Linked DNA regions of Homo sapiens: all the other regions are linked to region 1. Evidence: promoter capture Hi-C in human tissues and cell types (Jung and others, 2019). All regions are on one chromosome and are shown on one strand. The core of a region is centred on a gene start or on the middle of the fragment in contact, and the rest is flanking DNA. Distances in the headings are between cores, read along the strand shown.

Region 1 (5,091 bases), core at 1,779-4,278:
TTTGTCAAGGAAGAAAAGAAAGAGCTGTTAGATTCTGTAAATATAATGTCAACTGCTAATTTATGAATGGTTTTGAAAGGCTTTAACTTTCATATTACTTGCTTGTGGGAACAAATTTCTCATCACGAGCGACTATCCAGAATTTAAAGAGATCATGACCAAAAGTCTCAAACAGGAATTGTGCATAGTCATTTAAAACAAAAAATATGATTACTACAAATATTACGCTCATGGGACTGAGTTCAAGTTTCCAATTTAAAAAATGGAAATTATTTTAGCTGAACATCTTATGCAAATTCATTCTTTCCCTTACTTTTTGTGGTAGCCTGCCTCCAAGATGGTACCCAGTGATTCTTGTCTCCTGGTATTCACATCCTCATGTAATTCCCTCTCATATTGAATAGGGAAGACTTCTGTAACTAATAAGATAATTGCAGAAATGACAGTGTGTGATTTCCAAGGCTAGTCATAAGAGACACTGTAGGCTTCTGCCTTGCTCTCTCTTAGATCACTTCTTCCGGGGGAAGACAGTCACAGCATTACAAAGACACTCAGATACCCAATGGGGGCTCCACATGCTAAGAAGTTGAAGTCTACTGCCAAGAGCCAGCACTAACCAACTAGCCATGTGAGTAAGCCATCTTGGAAGTGTCTCCTCCAGCCCCAGTCAAGCCTTCAGATGATGTAGCCCCTGATGACATCTTGCCTGCAACATCATGAGAAACCTTGTGCAATAACTACGAGCTAAGCAGCTCCTAAATTCCTGACCCCCCCATAAACTGTGTGAGATAAATGTCTATTGCTATTTTAAGCTGATAAGTTTGGGGGTAATTTGTTATACAGTGATAGATAACTAATATATTTTGGGGATATTTTTGTCATAATTATACAATATTTTAAAATGTCAGTTGTTTTCAATAATCCCATATCAATGCCTCCCACCAATCACCTTCTAAAATGCAGATAAGGTATCTTTTTGGAGAGAAAATTAAAAACTGGGATTGCTAATATTCAGGAGCCTTCACCTTACACAGAAATCTTTAAGTCATATTCACAGACTCCTTTGTTCCTATTTTTATGTATGTTGGGGCAAGGGGACATAGGAGATTAACGGCATAATAGAGCCACAGTGCGGTGGCAGAAATTTTATTTCAAGGGTTTACTGAAAGTTAATGGTCCTGAAGTCACTCTGTATACGAAACATGAGCATAGTTGACACATTTGAAGTCCCTAAGCACTAAAACAATAACGATGCCTTCCTATGTGCAAAGATAAACAAAAAACGATATGTGTAAGAAGCCCCTGACATTACTATTTTTCCCTGATGCTTCTTCTTGAAATGTCAGTTACCAAATTCATCCTAAAGATTGTTTTAGTTTCCCACTTTTTCCCTTTCCTCATAGTTGGTTGATTATTGTTTAATCCAGCAATGATGAAACACCCTTTACAAACATAAAGATTCATTTCTAACATGAACATTTTTTATTACAGCAACTCCTTTGCTCCAGTTATTATGAAATCAATCATTTTACTTCCCAACCACTGGTGTTTTCCCGAGGGGCTCTTGTTAGCCAAGCTACCATTGATAAGTGCTTATTCTGTTAATATTCCTTTGAAACCCATTATAAACATTCCTTTTACCCAGAAACTCAGCAGTCCCTGGGAGGTGACTAAAGGGAGGATGGCAGGGCAGAGGGGAGCTCATTCAGTCCTGCAGACCTCATGCTGCCCAAGTTGTTTGTCCATTTTTTCAGCACCCATGCACTGTCACCTTACATGCATGCAAAGGGCCAAGCTGTTTATCCTGACCATGGAGAAGGACTAAGCAGGTAACAAATGCTAATTTCTGAGGTCAGGCAAGGCACTTTATATTATCCCTTTTTGAAGCCAATATCCAGGTATAGGGCAGGATGGGAAGGTTCTGAGCATCCTGCATATTTACAAGTACTTTGCTACATTTAGTAAGAACTGATTAGTGGTCATACCCATGGAAGTCAAAAACTCTAGCATGGTGGCTCATCCTTATAATCCCAGCACTTTGGGAGGCTGAGGCAGAAGGATCAGTTGAGTCCAGGACTTCAAGACCAGTTTGGACAACACAGCGAGACCTCATCTCTACAAAAAATTTTTAAAATTAGCTGGATGTGGTGGCGCCTGTATTCCCAGCTCCTAGGGAATCTGAGACCAGAGGATCAGTTGAGCCCAGGGATTTGAGGCTGCGGTGAACTATGATCCGGCCACTGCACTCCAGTCTGGGCAACAGAGTAAGACTCTGTCTCAAAAACAAGCCTCTTACAGTTTGGTTACATTTTTAGAAGATTAAGCACATGCCTTAAAAAACATGGGCAAAGAAAGGCACGGAAGAAAACTTAAAAAAACTTGATATTAAAATTTTGAAGCTGAGCTGTTCGATATAACTACAGTCACATGTGACTATTTAATTTTAAGTGAAAATTAAGTAAAATTAAAAATTTCCTCAGTGGGACGAGCATATTTCACCTCCTTTATAGGCCATGCGTGGCTAGAACAGATGGAAAACATTTCCATCATCGCAGAAAGTTCTACTGGACAGCACTGTTCTGAAGTGTTTAATTTGCCATCATGGAAAAGAAATAAAATTCACTGAATGTCCTTAAATCTGTTTTATGATTTGGCATTGTGTTTAAGTCTGGATTGCACATTTAGGATAGAGGTAAGAGGACCACACTATTTTCAGTGTCTGGAGACCTCTAAAGACTCTAATTCGACCTTGGCCAAAACGATCCTTAACAGCATTTATATGCTTGATCTCCTCTCCACGCAGCCCATCAATAAGCCATTGCGCTCCACGGTCACACTTCAGCACTCCCAATACACCAGGCAGACACTGAGTACGAGTCTCGGCTGGTGTCCTAGCAACAGCGACGCGACCCCGCCCCTTCCCGCGTACACCTCCTACCTTATTAGCCTGGAAGGGGCGGGACCAGGGGTCCGTGCCCAATAGGAAGGGAGCAGAGGAGTGAGTCCTGGCCGCGTCCCCGTCGCTAGGGAAACCGATGCAGCTGGAGGCCGCGCGCGATGCGGCTCGCGGAGGAGCGGGCCGCGCTCGCGGCGGAGAACGCGGATGGGGAACCCGGCGCCGACCGACGACTGCGACTCCTGGGGACCTACGTGGCCATGAGCCTGCGGCCGGCTGCGGGCGCCTGGGAGCGTTGCGCGGGGAGTGCTGAGGCGGAGCAGCTGCTCCAGGCCTTCCTGGGCCGCGATGCTGCCGAGGGGCCGCGGCCGCTGCTGGTGGTGCGGCCCGGGCCCAGGGGCCTGGCAATACGCCCCGGGCTGGAGGTGGGACCTGAGTCGGGCCTGGCTGGCGCTAAGGCGCTTTTTTTCCTTCGCACCGGGCCCGAGCCTCCAGGGCCCGACAGCTTCCGCGGCGCAGTGGTCTGCGGGGACCTGCCCGCGGCACCTCTGGAGCACCTAGCCGCGCTGTTCTCGGAGGTGAGGGTGGGTTAGTGTCCCCGCGCGGCTAAAGCTGGGTGGGGGAGGGGAGGAGGAGCCTTAAGGGACGGAGGCGGGGCCAGAGGGGGCGGGGCGAAGCTGCAGGGGAGGTCCAAGAGGCGGAGTGATAGGCAGAGGGGCGAGGCTGTGGAGGGAGCACAACCAGGAGGGAAGTTCCTGAAGTCAGGAAGAAAATGGGATGGGGTTAGGGGCGGAGTCGGGTGGGTCCGGAGGGAGGGATCTGGGTGGAGGCCAGGCCAGAATGAGAATGGGAAGGAGCTGAGGCTTGGGTCAGTCCGGGTCTGGGTTCCAGCCAAAGTCAGGGGAAGACCATAATCTGAAGAGTGCCTAGGTTCTGACTACTTTCAAAATCAGCCTCTCGTAATCCCTCCTGTAAATTGGAAAGATCTGAAGAAGATGGGAAGTGGACAAGACGGCATTTCTGATGGATCAGTGGGGTGGAAGGAGGTGGATGGCTATAAACAGTGCCTACTTCTGGAGAGCAGTTAAATGGGAGGGGGAGGTGGGTAGTGATTTGCTTTTGATTTTCATCTCATTCATTCATTACCAACCATTTAGCAAAGGTCAGCCCTGTGCCAGCATAAGAAGTTGGGCTCCCATTTGGAAATGCCCAGCAGGCCTTTGGAGGAGTCTGCCTGAAGCTCAGGGAGGAAGGTGGAGATGTGGGTCATGAGTGCTTTAGTGGCACCACAGCAGAAGCTTCGAGAATGCAGGAGATTTCAGGGAAGTGCTCCAGAGAGATTCCTGGGCCCCTTAGACCTTTCTGGAATGGGAGTAAACTGCCCTGCAAGTCAGGCTGTGTGCTTATGGAGGCTTGATGCCCTGGACCCTGCAGGTTGTGAAATAAGGATGGGCAGAATACTGGCTGTATGATGGTTCAGGTGATAGGTGCTATAGGGAATACCAAAGAACTATTCCCACCCATGAAATGCTTACTCCAAGGAGCTGAAACGTATGTAATAATTCATATATTCAAAATGTTTCAAACTTTTAAGACTGGGGTGAGGGTAAAGCTTACCTAAAAGTTGGCCCCACTGCTGGATGCAAGTCCTGGAGTCTCCCTGCTATGTCAAGTGTAAGCCCTTTAGATGGTGTATCAGGAGGCTGTGGGGAGGTGAAAATTCCAGGGAAAGGGTTGGATAGATAGAGGAGGACACAGAGGGCCCAGGAAGCTAGATCTCTTAGATATGGAGGTATTTCAATATTTTAACAAACAGAATGGTCTTGCAACTGTGCATTGTCTGAAAGCCATCCCGCTGAAGCCTGAACTTAGATCAGCTTCTCTAATGAATGTTGACGATAGAAAGTACTTTTGGCTTCAGAGGAGAAAGACAGGCCTGTGATCTGAGAAGCATGCTTAACATAAGTGTTGAATTGTCTCCTGAACAATTAGAAGAATTTGTATAAGTAGAGAGCAAGGTAACTTTCAAGATACTGAGAGCAGACTGATCAAAGGTTCAGAGACAGGATTTAACCTAGTGTATGTGGGAGACAGAAGGCCCATCTCAGAGTTGTGTCATGGCCAAGCAAAGTAGTCCAGCAAGAAAAATAATTTTAAAATAATGAAAATTCTCGAATGTTTAAGAATTTTCATTG
Region 2 (5,091 bases), core at 1,294-3,793, 230 kb before region 1:
CATTTTTTTGTGTGTTTGGCTTTCACTTAACGTTATATTAGTGAGAGTTACCCATATTGTTACATCTGTCACCAGTTCACACTTTTTGAAGTATTTCACATAATTTTTCACATAAGTATTTCACATAAGTATTTATGTGGTATATTGTAAATATGCCACAGCCTATTTATTCAATCACCATTTGATGGACATTCTGGCTATTTTCAATTCTTTTACTATTTTAAATAAAGCTGCAATAAATATTCTTGCACATGTCAATTGACGGACATATATTCATTTCTCCTGGGTAAATTTTTAGATTTGGAATTGCTGGAATATAGAATGGAAATATTTTATCTTCAGAACAAACTACCAACAAGCTTTTCAAAGTGGTTTATCATTTTGCATTCCCACCAGCAGTGTATGAGAGTTCCAGTTGCTCCACATCCTCACCAACATTTGGTATTGCCAGTCTTTTTAATTTTAGCCATTCTGGTGAGTGTAAGGTGGTATTACATTACAGTTAAAAGTGTAGACTTTCTTGAAGCCATGAAAAATCTGTATTTGAGCCCTAGGTCTTCTATTCATGAGGTAAGTGAAGGGGAACAAGAAACCTAAACACTCTGAGACTCAAGTTTCCTCACCTATAATACAAAGGATATTCTTGACCACCTCAAGAAGTTTTCTGAAGATTAAATGAGGTAGTGATTACAAAGCAGAAGCTCTCGCTCATAAATACTTAGTATTAAATAATAACTATTATAGCTACTGTTATTATCATTATTATTATTACTACTGCAATTGATACTATTCAGGTAAAGAAATCCCTTATTCTATTAAGGTTGTCCTACATATAAGGATATTATTGGTTGAAATTATTATTATTATTATTATTTGAGTTGGAGTCTCACTCTGTTACCCAGGCTGGAGTGCAGTGGCACAATCTTGGCTCACTGCAACCTCTGCCTCCCAGATTCAAGCGATTCTCTTGCCTCAGCCTCCCAAGTAGCTGAGATCACAGGCACTCACCACCACATCCAGCTAATTTTTGTATTTTTAGTAGAGATGGGGTTTTACCATGTTGGCCAGGCTGGTCTCAAGCTCCTGACCTCAAGTGACCCACCTGCCTTGGCCTCCCAAAATGCTAGGATTACAGGCGTGAGCCACTGCACTCAGCCAAATTATTTTTAAAGTTATATTTTTATGTTATAAAGTTTTCTTAGACAGTTGACAGGAATTTAATAATATTGAGAGAAGTTCATTTAGTCCGTTAATCCATTGGCAACTATCAACAGATATATCCTATGTGCCCAGCACTGCTCTAGGTACAGGATATCCCTCTTGTGGAAGCTTTAAGAAGGGAGATGGACAATAAACAATAACCAAGTAGGTGAACAAGATAGTTTTATAGAATGATACATGCCCTTGATGAAAATACAGTAATGTGATAGAGAATGTTGGGGAGCCTACAATAGATTGGGTGATTAGAGAAAGTCTCTCTCAGGAGGCAAGCCTTACAATAAAAATCTAAATGATTAACAAGAATCTAGGTTTACAAACATCTGAGGACAGAGAGTTCCAGGAAGAGGGAACTGCAAGTGCAAAGGATGTAAGACAGGCATAAGCTGGGAATGCTAGAAAAACAGAAGGAATTTGCTATGGCTATAGGGAGCCAAGGGAAAAGTGGTGTGAGGGAGGGAAGCTGGCAGGGCCATGGTGTGTAATGTCCTGTAGATTATTTTACATTTGTATATATGTATATTTTTGAGACAAGATCTCATTCTGTTACCCAGGGTGGAGTGCAGTGACAGGATCTTGGCTCACTGCAACCTCCACCTCCCGGGCTCAGGTGATCCTCCCACCTAAGCCTCCTGAGTAGCTGGGACTACAGGCACATGCCACCATGCCCAGCTAATTTTTTGTAGAGGTGGGGTTTCGCCTTGTTGCCCAGGCAGGTCTCAAGTGCCTGAGCTCAAGTGATCTGCTTGCCTTGGCCTCAGAAAGTGCTGGGATTACAGGCATGAGCCACTGTGCCCAGCTACATTTGTATGTTAAGTGTAATATGACGCCTTGGAAGATTTTAAGGAGAGGCATAGAATGAGCAGATGTCTATTTTTAGGAGAAGACTTTTCTGTGTGTTATGCAGAGAATCTAGAGAGTCGATGGAAGTGGGTAAGGAGTGGAAGCAGGAAGCTCAGTCCTCCTGCTGTAGCAGGTCAGATGAGGGATGGTGGCAGCACTCCTGGGAGGTGGCAGGACAGATGGAGAAGAGTGGGTGGATGTGAAATGAAGCTTGCAAATCGTCCTGATGGGCCTTGCTGATGATAGGGAGGAGAAGATGAAGAGAGGAATAAAGGCTCTAGAACAGAGGAAGCAATGACAAGAAAGACTGGAGGAGAAATGGTGTATGTGGAGGGTTGCAGGAATAAAGTTTTCTTTTGGCCATTGTCATGGGTTAAATTTTGCCCCCATAAAAGATATGTTGAAGTCCGAATTGCTGAACCTTACTTGAGATCAGGATTTTGGCAGATATAATCAAATTAAGATGAGGTCATACTGAATTAGGTTGGACTTTAATCCATATGATAAGGATTTATGGTGATAAGAAGAACGGAAAGGAGAGATGGACAGACAGACCTACAGGATGGGCAAGAGGGAATTGAGGACAAACTGTGAGGCAAAGAAAGTTACTATCAGCAACTCTTTTGACATTTCATAGAGAAGGACAGTGGAGAAATGGGACGGTGACTTGGCTGGGGGAATGGGGTGAAGGGAGAATAGAACATGTAAAGTCATAAGAGTTGAGAAGTTTCAGTATGAATGAGCCCATTGAGGGAGAGAAATTGATGACTGAGGAGGAGAGGGAGAATTTCAGGAGCTAAGTCCTTGAGATGATGAAAAGGGATAGGCCATGCTTGGAACAAGGACATTGGACTCACTTTCATAGCAGGGAGGACAGAGAAAGGGGATGGCTGTAAATTCCCTGTGAACAACAGAGTTCCTTTCCGATGAGGCAAGGTCATGAGTTGAAGGGCACAGAGAACAGGGAACACTGGAGGTTTCAGGAACAGCAGAAACTATAAAAAACATTTGGGAATTGGAAGAACCAACATTCCAGGGAAGGAAAGCACAATTCCCAAGAGGTGAGGGGCCCTTTGAAACTTGTGGTTCTCAATTCTAAGAGACCCTGGGCAGTCACAGTGATATTGGTGAACACACCCCAGGTGCTGTTCTAAGCCCTTTACATCTAAAGTCCCACATCTACTAGATGTAGCTGGTGGGCTCTCACCACTGGCGGTTTTGCTGAGTGAATGCATGGAATGAGATGGAGGCTGAGGATGCTGAGGATGGACCATGCCAACACAACTGGATAAGGAGGCAAGGAAGGCTCAGGGTATAACAGTCTGCAAATGAAATCACCTTCCTACTGGGCATTACAGTCTGAAAAATAGTTTAGCCCCTCAAATTTTCTCCCTCTCCAATTGTTTATTTTGCTCTGGGTTGGAAAGTTCTCTCTTAGGTGCTTGGGAAGAGGTGTGGTCCCTTGAGCAGATGCTGGCCGGACAGCTCCCCCACCTAGAGTGCTTATAGTTCCATCATCTTCCCAAAGTTGAATTAATCTAACCCCAAGTCACTCACATGACCCACTTTTCCAAAGAATCAAGAGACAATAGATGACAAAATCCCACAAGACGCTCTATACACGTGACTACATTTGGACAATACAGTACAAGACTCGGTGTGTCCAAGCAAATTCTGTCTCAGAGCCAAGGACATGGTCCAACCCACACAAACATGAAATTTCCCAGCATGTCAGGAGCAAGACAGGGATCACAGAATCACAGAGGAACCAGTGCAGGCAGGTGTGAGATGGAGCGCTTCCTTTTGGAGGTGAGATGAGCTGACGTGTTTTCTCCTACTAATCTTAATTAGCGGGTCTGTTTTTTCCAAAGCACATTCAGGAGAATCGCAGTGAGTGCCCTAAACCATGACATTACCAGCATGAAAACTGATACTCTCCCAGAAGTATGGGGTAGAGAAGAGTCCTTCCTGGAGCTTTGAATAATTTTGGACTTAAGACTCTTCCTTGACTTTCTCCCTGGAATATTTTGAAATATTCAGTATACTTGAGTTTTGCTCTTCTAGTAGTAATGGTAGTAGTACTAGTAATGATAGTAACTATTTATCAAATAACTGTAAGGGGCACTGTGCTTTATATGAATTGTTGGGGTTTTTTGTTTTTCGTTTGTTCGGTTATTTATTTATTTATTTTTTGAGACAGAGTCTTGCTCTGTCGCCCAGGCTGGAGTGCAGTGGCACAGTCTTGACTCACTGCAACCTCTGCCTCCCAGGTTCAAGTGATTCTCCTGCCTCAGCCTCCTGAGTAGCTGGGATTATAGGTGCGTGCCACCATGCCCAGCTAATTTTTGTATTTTTAGTAGAGACAGGGTTTCACTATGTTGGTCAGGCTGGTCTCGAACTCCTGACTTCGTGATCCGCCCACCTCAGCCTCCCAAAGTGCTGGGATTACAGGCATGGGCCACCGAACCCGGCCGAATTATTGTACTTAATTTAGTCTTCATCCCTTCCTCATGAGCGAGGCACCATTCCCATTTTACAGATGAAGATAATTTAGAAAGCATGAATGGTTCATCCAGAGCCACACAGCTAGTCCCAGAACCAGAAAGACTTATTGGAAGTCTATGCTTTTATCGCCTCTATGTTACTGAGATATGCCTAGGGCCATTTGGCACTTCAGGCTTAGCTTTTTTTGCAAGTATGGTGGAATGAAAGGAACTCCCAGCATAGAAAGACAGGGAATTTAGAGTCCATCCTAAATCACAGCTTAGTCACTTTGTGACTTTGTGTAATTATTTAACCTCTCTGAGACTTAACTCTTTTGGCAAATAGAGAATGTCAATATTTTCTTCACACATTTTCCTCTAGATGTTAAAAGGCATTCATCACCAATGTCTCAGTCCAAAGGCACATGATAAAATTATCTAAGACGGTGGCAGTTTCTCAGGATCATTTAGTTAAAACTCATTCATTTGGATTCACTCATAGGACGCTCAGTGTTTTTGCAGAATGTGAGAAGAAGTCAAGAAACAG
Region 3 (5,091 bases), core at 1,688-4,187, 140 kb before region 1:
CTTCAGAGGACTCTGCATTCTGGCCCATGGCTACACTCAGCCAATTTTCCACTTTCCTCTTCATTGTCCTGCACAGTCAATTAGCCTCCTGTGAGTTCCCAGACCAAGCTGAGCCATCCCAGACCTCAGGCCTGTGGACACCCTGCCCGCACTGTGAAATGCTTTTCTCTGTGCTCCAGGCGTGTGGCTCCTTCATGCCCTAGTCTAAATGCCACTTTCTCAAAGGCCCTTCATGTCCATCATGGCGCTTATCCAAATGGGTTATTTTTATAGACATTTGTTCACTCATTTGTTATCTATTTCTTTCCGATTCAAATGGGAGAACCTTCAGAGCAGAGAACTCATCCTGGTTGTCACTCCTACTTGGAGCAGTTCCTGACACATAGCAGGTGTGCTTTAAAAATGTTCAATGGGCTGGGCACGGTAGCTCATGCCTATAATCTCAGCACTTTGGGAGGCCAAGGTGGGTGGATCACGAGGTCAGGAGATCAAGACCATTCTGGCTAACAGGGTGAAATCCTGTCTCTACTAAAAATACAAAAAAATAGCTGGGCGTGGTGGTGAGCACCTGTAGTCCAAGCCACTCCAGAGGCTGAGGCAGGAGAATGGTGTGAACCCAGGAGGTGGAGCTTGCAGTGAGCCGAGATCACGCCACTGCACTCCAGCCTGGGCGACAGAGCAAGACTCTGTCTCAAAAAAACAAAACAAACAAACAAACAAAAAAAACAGTTCAATGAATGAATGACTCAATGCAATGTCATCCTGTACTCCTTATTTAAAATAAAATAAAAGAGAGGGAGTTTGTGGAGATTTCATATGGGATAATAGCACCTACTTCATAAGGTTAGAATTGAAATGAGTCAACATATGCTGAACACCTACAACAATGCCTGGCACACAGCAAACGTGATGTAAATGTGAGACTAAAAATAATAATGATGGAAGCAAATTCATGGAAGAGGAGTTCCAGCCTTCTTAGGAGAACAAAACTGTTTATTCCTTTCACAAATATTTACTGAGTCTGCACAGATGGAAGTGTGTGTACAAGCGTGGAAGTGTGTGTACAAGCGTGGAAGTGTGTGTACAAGCGTGGAGAGCGTCACACCCAAATGGCACTCTTCACAAGAACAGAACACAGACCCTTCACACTTTGCTCCCAGAAGAGCCCAGGAGTAAAGGTTCTCACCCCGCTGAGCATTTCCTTTTCCCTGACACCCCCAATTTGCACAGAAACCATGGGAGAGGGGTCACATTCCATTTTAGAAGGCGACATCCTCACAGCAGGGCACTACGCTGGGTACTATTTGTATCTGCAGTGGGTGCACTACCTACTGGCCATCGAAAACCCTTCTGGTCATCGAAAAGCTCTTGGGAGTACCTTTGCACTCAAAGCAATACACATCATTTTAAGATATTCTCCAAATCCTGTTGATACTAAAATGAGTGCATTTTCTTCTAGGGTGCGTGAAGGATTGAGGTTTGACCGTAGATGTTCAAATATATGGAAGTCCATATTGTCTTAACAGCACCCAGACCTGTCCTCCCAACAATTTAAAATTGTCATGGTTAGAAAGGCGCTTTGTAAATGTAAACCCATCGCTTTACCTTTCCAAGGGCATTCTTTATGAGATGAGTCATGAAAGCATCCTTGTGCATGCAGGAGGCATTTACTAAATGCACATTTTCAAAAAGTGGTGGGAGACGGAGGACCGGAGGGAGGGAGGAGGATACACCAACAGCACATGGGCCCTGCCAAACCCACCTCTGTTACTTGATATGGATGGTCATACCGGTTGTGCTCTGCACCGAGGCACCTGGTGGAGGGAGCCATTTTGCTCACTGGGGCTGTGACTTCCCAGGGGAGTTCTCCTCTTCCTAAGTGCCTTCCAGAGGCACTCAGTGTGCCGACAGTCACCTGGTTCCATAAGCAGTCTCCTTCACAAACAGAAATAAGCAGAAACTGGACCCTGGGTATGAGCACAGCTAAGTTCTAGCCTGGATTCTGCCACTAACTTAAGACTCTTCCCTCCTCTAGCTCCAGGCATCTACATCCATAAGATGATGAATTCAGACAAGATAGTTGGTTTTCACACATTTTGTTTTGTAGCTGCAGAGCCATGTCCTCCAGTGAAATAGTTCTTTGAACCTCCTAAGTGAAGCAAATGACCTTGAGGCCACGCTGTCGGAGGTGGGAGGGGACCTGAGCCCTTAGCCCTCACCAGGGCTGGACCGCCCCCCTCTGCACACGAAGAACTGCAGGACTTGGAGGCTGTCTCAAATATTCTCTTTAGGGCTATATTTCTGGGATTTTATAAGAACCTGTCAAGCAAGAAAAACTCCCCAGAGATTATAGAGTGTTACACACAGATAGAAATAATAAGACCCACAATTCCACTGTGTACCCTGGCCATTCAACTGGGGGATGCTTTTCAAGTCTTTCTAGCAGGGTCCTCAGCTCCTGTAGGCTGTCACTCATCCACTTCCCTTCATCGAAGCTTCTGGCTCTTTGCCACTACCTACAATCTCATCCAGTTCTCTGCTGTGCCGTATGCTCCCTTGATATTGGGAGATTCTTAAAAGAAGTCAGTCCCCCTTGTCAGTTCCAGCTCTCTCAAGAGCCTATCTGCAAATCTCTGCCTCATTGAATATGCATGGTGACCAACTGAATATTTATGATGCCCCAAAGTCTCCAAAGGGCCCCAGCGTTTCGAATGCATGCAGCCCTCCCTGGTACCCATTCCGTAGCTCCCCAGTGGTGTCCCTGCCACTCATCTCTACCCTGCACTCCTTCTCCTTTACTGTTGATCCTAATCCATCAATCCTCAGTCTTCCCGAGGAAGCTTTTCTGAATTACACCACCACCCATGCAGTCGACAGTTACAACACAGGTTAAAATCTGTCTTTTGGAATAGAAGCTTTCCTTGCACAGGGAAATGCCAGTTTCTCATTAACTTCCATAAAGGTAGATGAGATAGGCCGGGCACGGTGGCTCATGCCTGTAATCCCAGCACTTTGGGAGGCCAAGGCAGGCAGATCACGAAGTCAGGAGTTCGAGACCAGCCTGCCCAACATAGTGAAACCCTGTCTCTACTAAAAATGCAAAAAAAAAAAAAAAATTAGTTGGGTATGGTGGCATGTACCTGTAGTCGCAGCTACTTGGGAGGCTAAGGCAGGAGAATCGCTTGAACCCGGGTGGTGGAGGTTGCAGTAAGCCGAGACCACGCCATTGCACTCCAGTCTGGGTGACAGAGTGAGACTCAGTCTCAAAAAAAAAAAAAAAAGACAGATGAGATAGATAGATGCCTTCCATAAAAATAGAGAATGCCTGGGCCGGGCACGGTGGCTTATGCCTGTAATCCCAACACTTTGGGAAGCTGAGGCAGGTGGATCACGAGGTCAGGAGATTGAGACCATCCTGGCTAACGTGGTAAAACCCCGTATCTACTAAAAATACAAAAAATTAGCCGGGCTTAGTGGCGGGTGCCTGTAGTCCCAGCTACTTAGGAGGCTGAGGCAGGAGAATGGCGTGAACCTGGGAGGCAGAGGTTGCAGTGAGCCGAGATCACGCCACTGCACTCCAGCCTGGATGACATAGCGAGACTCTGTCTAAAAAAAAAAAAAAAAAAATAGAATGCCTGAAAAAACAGGGTCTTACACTTACCATGTGTTAAGAATTGCCTTAAATACTTCACCAGACTTATCTTAAGTCCAACCAGTGAGTATCTTCTGGGTGATAATGCAACTTCTTCAGGCTTCGGTTTTCTCATCTGTAGGTGGTGAACATGTCTGCCTATTGTGATGTTACCTTAATGAAATGATGAAAAGAAGTCAACCTTGCAAAGCTAGTTGGTGGGCTCTGATAGTAATGTTCCTCCTCTCTCTTTGTTCTTCACTCTCCCCTCCCCTGGGTGTGTTGTCAGGGAATAAAGAAAGCTCAATATCCCAAGGAGTGAGCTCTGAGCCCTACAGAAGCAGACGCCGAAGAAGGAGTGATGATTTCTGTCGCCACGCTGTTGAGTGTAGCAGACCATGTGCTAATGAGGATGGATGAGGCTGTTTGGTAGAAAGGATCTGCTCTCCTGGAGGAGACCAAACTATGGATGCAGACAATTGATGGCCAGGATGAGGGGCCCCTCTGCAAACTCTCAGGCTGAGCCAGGCCCCCTTATTCAGTGCACAAACCCACTTTTCTATCTTCTGGGAGAACCAGCCTCCAGTGCAGCATCTTCTGACCCATGCTACTCTCCTGAGAAGATAGCATAATGCTCCTCCCAGATTTAGACAGGCTCCACATGGATCTGCTGCTTACTCCCTGTGTGGCCTTTGAAAGGTCACTTAACCTCTCTGGGTCCCGATGTCTCACTTGACAAACAGGCATAATCCCGGCCTGTTCCCATCGTTGGGTAGTTGTGAGAATTAAAAGGAGTTATGGTGTAAAAGACATTATGGGCCGGGCATGGTGGCTCACGCCTGTAATCCCAGCACTTTGGGAGGCCGAGGCAGGCGGATCATGAGGTCAGGATCAGGAGATCGAGACCATCCTGGCTAACACGGTGAAACCCCGTCTCTACTAAAAAAAAAAAATGCAAAAAAATTAGCTGGGCGTGGTGGCAGGCACCTGTGGTCCCAGCTACTCGGGAGACTGAGGCAGGAGAATGGCATGAACCTGGGAGGTGGAGCTTGCAGTGAGCCAAAATCGCACCACTTCACTCCAGCCCGGGCGACAGAGCGAGACTCCATCTCAAAAAAAAAAAAAAAAAAGACATTATGAATACAAGACTAATTTCAAATATCTCATCCTTTCATGAAGCCCTCCCCTACCCTCCTACACTGAATTAATCTTGTATTGCTCTGGACTGCCTCCTGAATACTAATAATATGCCCCTGCTATAGCATTGCTCAGAGTCTGCCCTGGATAATAAGGAGTTATTCACATGCATTTGTTGGCCTGCTAGACCATGAGCTGTATGAGGCAGGTGTACAGGGTATGGCTCTTATGCATCTCTGTGTACACCTCTGCAGGCAGCACAGTGCCAGGCACATGGCACATGTACAGTAAGTGTTTAATGAAATAATCAAGACCTCTTTCTG

Evidence for each region. The method cuts DNA at HindIII sites, captures the fragments that hold promoters and counts their contacts. A contact is called where the count stands out against the background at its distance.
Region 2: a fragment that was not itself captured here is called in contact with the fragment with the promoter of DNAH9 in region 1 in 2 of the 25 tissues and cell types used here (H1 embryonic stem cells and mesenchymal stem cells).
Region 3: a contact is called between a fragment that was not itself captured here and the fragment with the promoter of DNAH9 in region 1, in 2 of the 25 tissues and cell types used here (H1 embryonic stem cells and spleen).

The regions. Positions count from the first base shown.
Region 1 is chr17:11,595,442-11,600,532 of GRCh38, forward strand. DNAH9 (dynein axonemal heavy chain 9) reads left to right here and starts at 3,029. Exons shown (of 69, transcript NM_001372.4): 1 at 3,029-3,474. The coding sequence starts at 3,058. The HindIII fragment of the contact is 9,113 bases long and covers 1-4,351 here.
Region 2 is chr17:11,364,421-11,369,511 of GRCh38, forward strand. The region is part of intron 2 of SHISA6 (shisa family member 6); the gene reads left to right. Among named protein-coding and RNA genes, the nearest start is that of SHISA6, 130 kb to the left of the region's middle. The HindIII fragment of the contact is 3,398 bases long and covers 845-4,242 here.
Region 3 is chr17:11,454,476-11,459,566 of GRCh38, forward strand. All of the region lies in intron 3 of SHISA6 (shisa family member 6), which reads left to right. Among named protein-coding and RNA genes, the nearest start is that of DNAH9, 140 kb to the right of the region's middle. The HindIII fragment of the contact is 3,898 bases long and covers 989-4,886 here.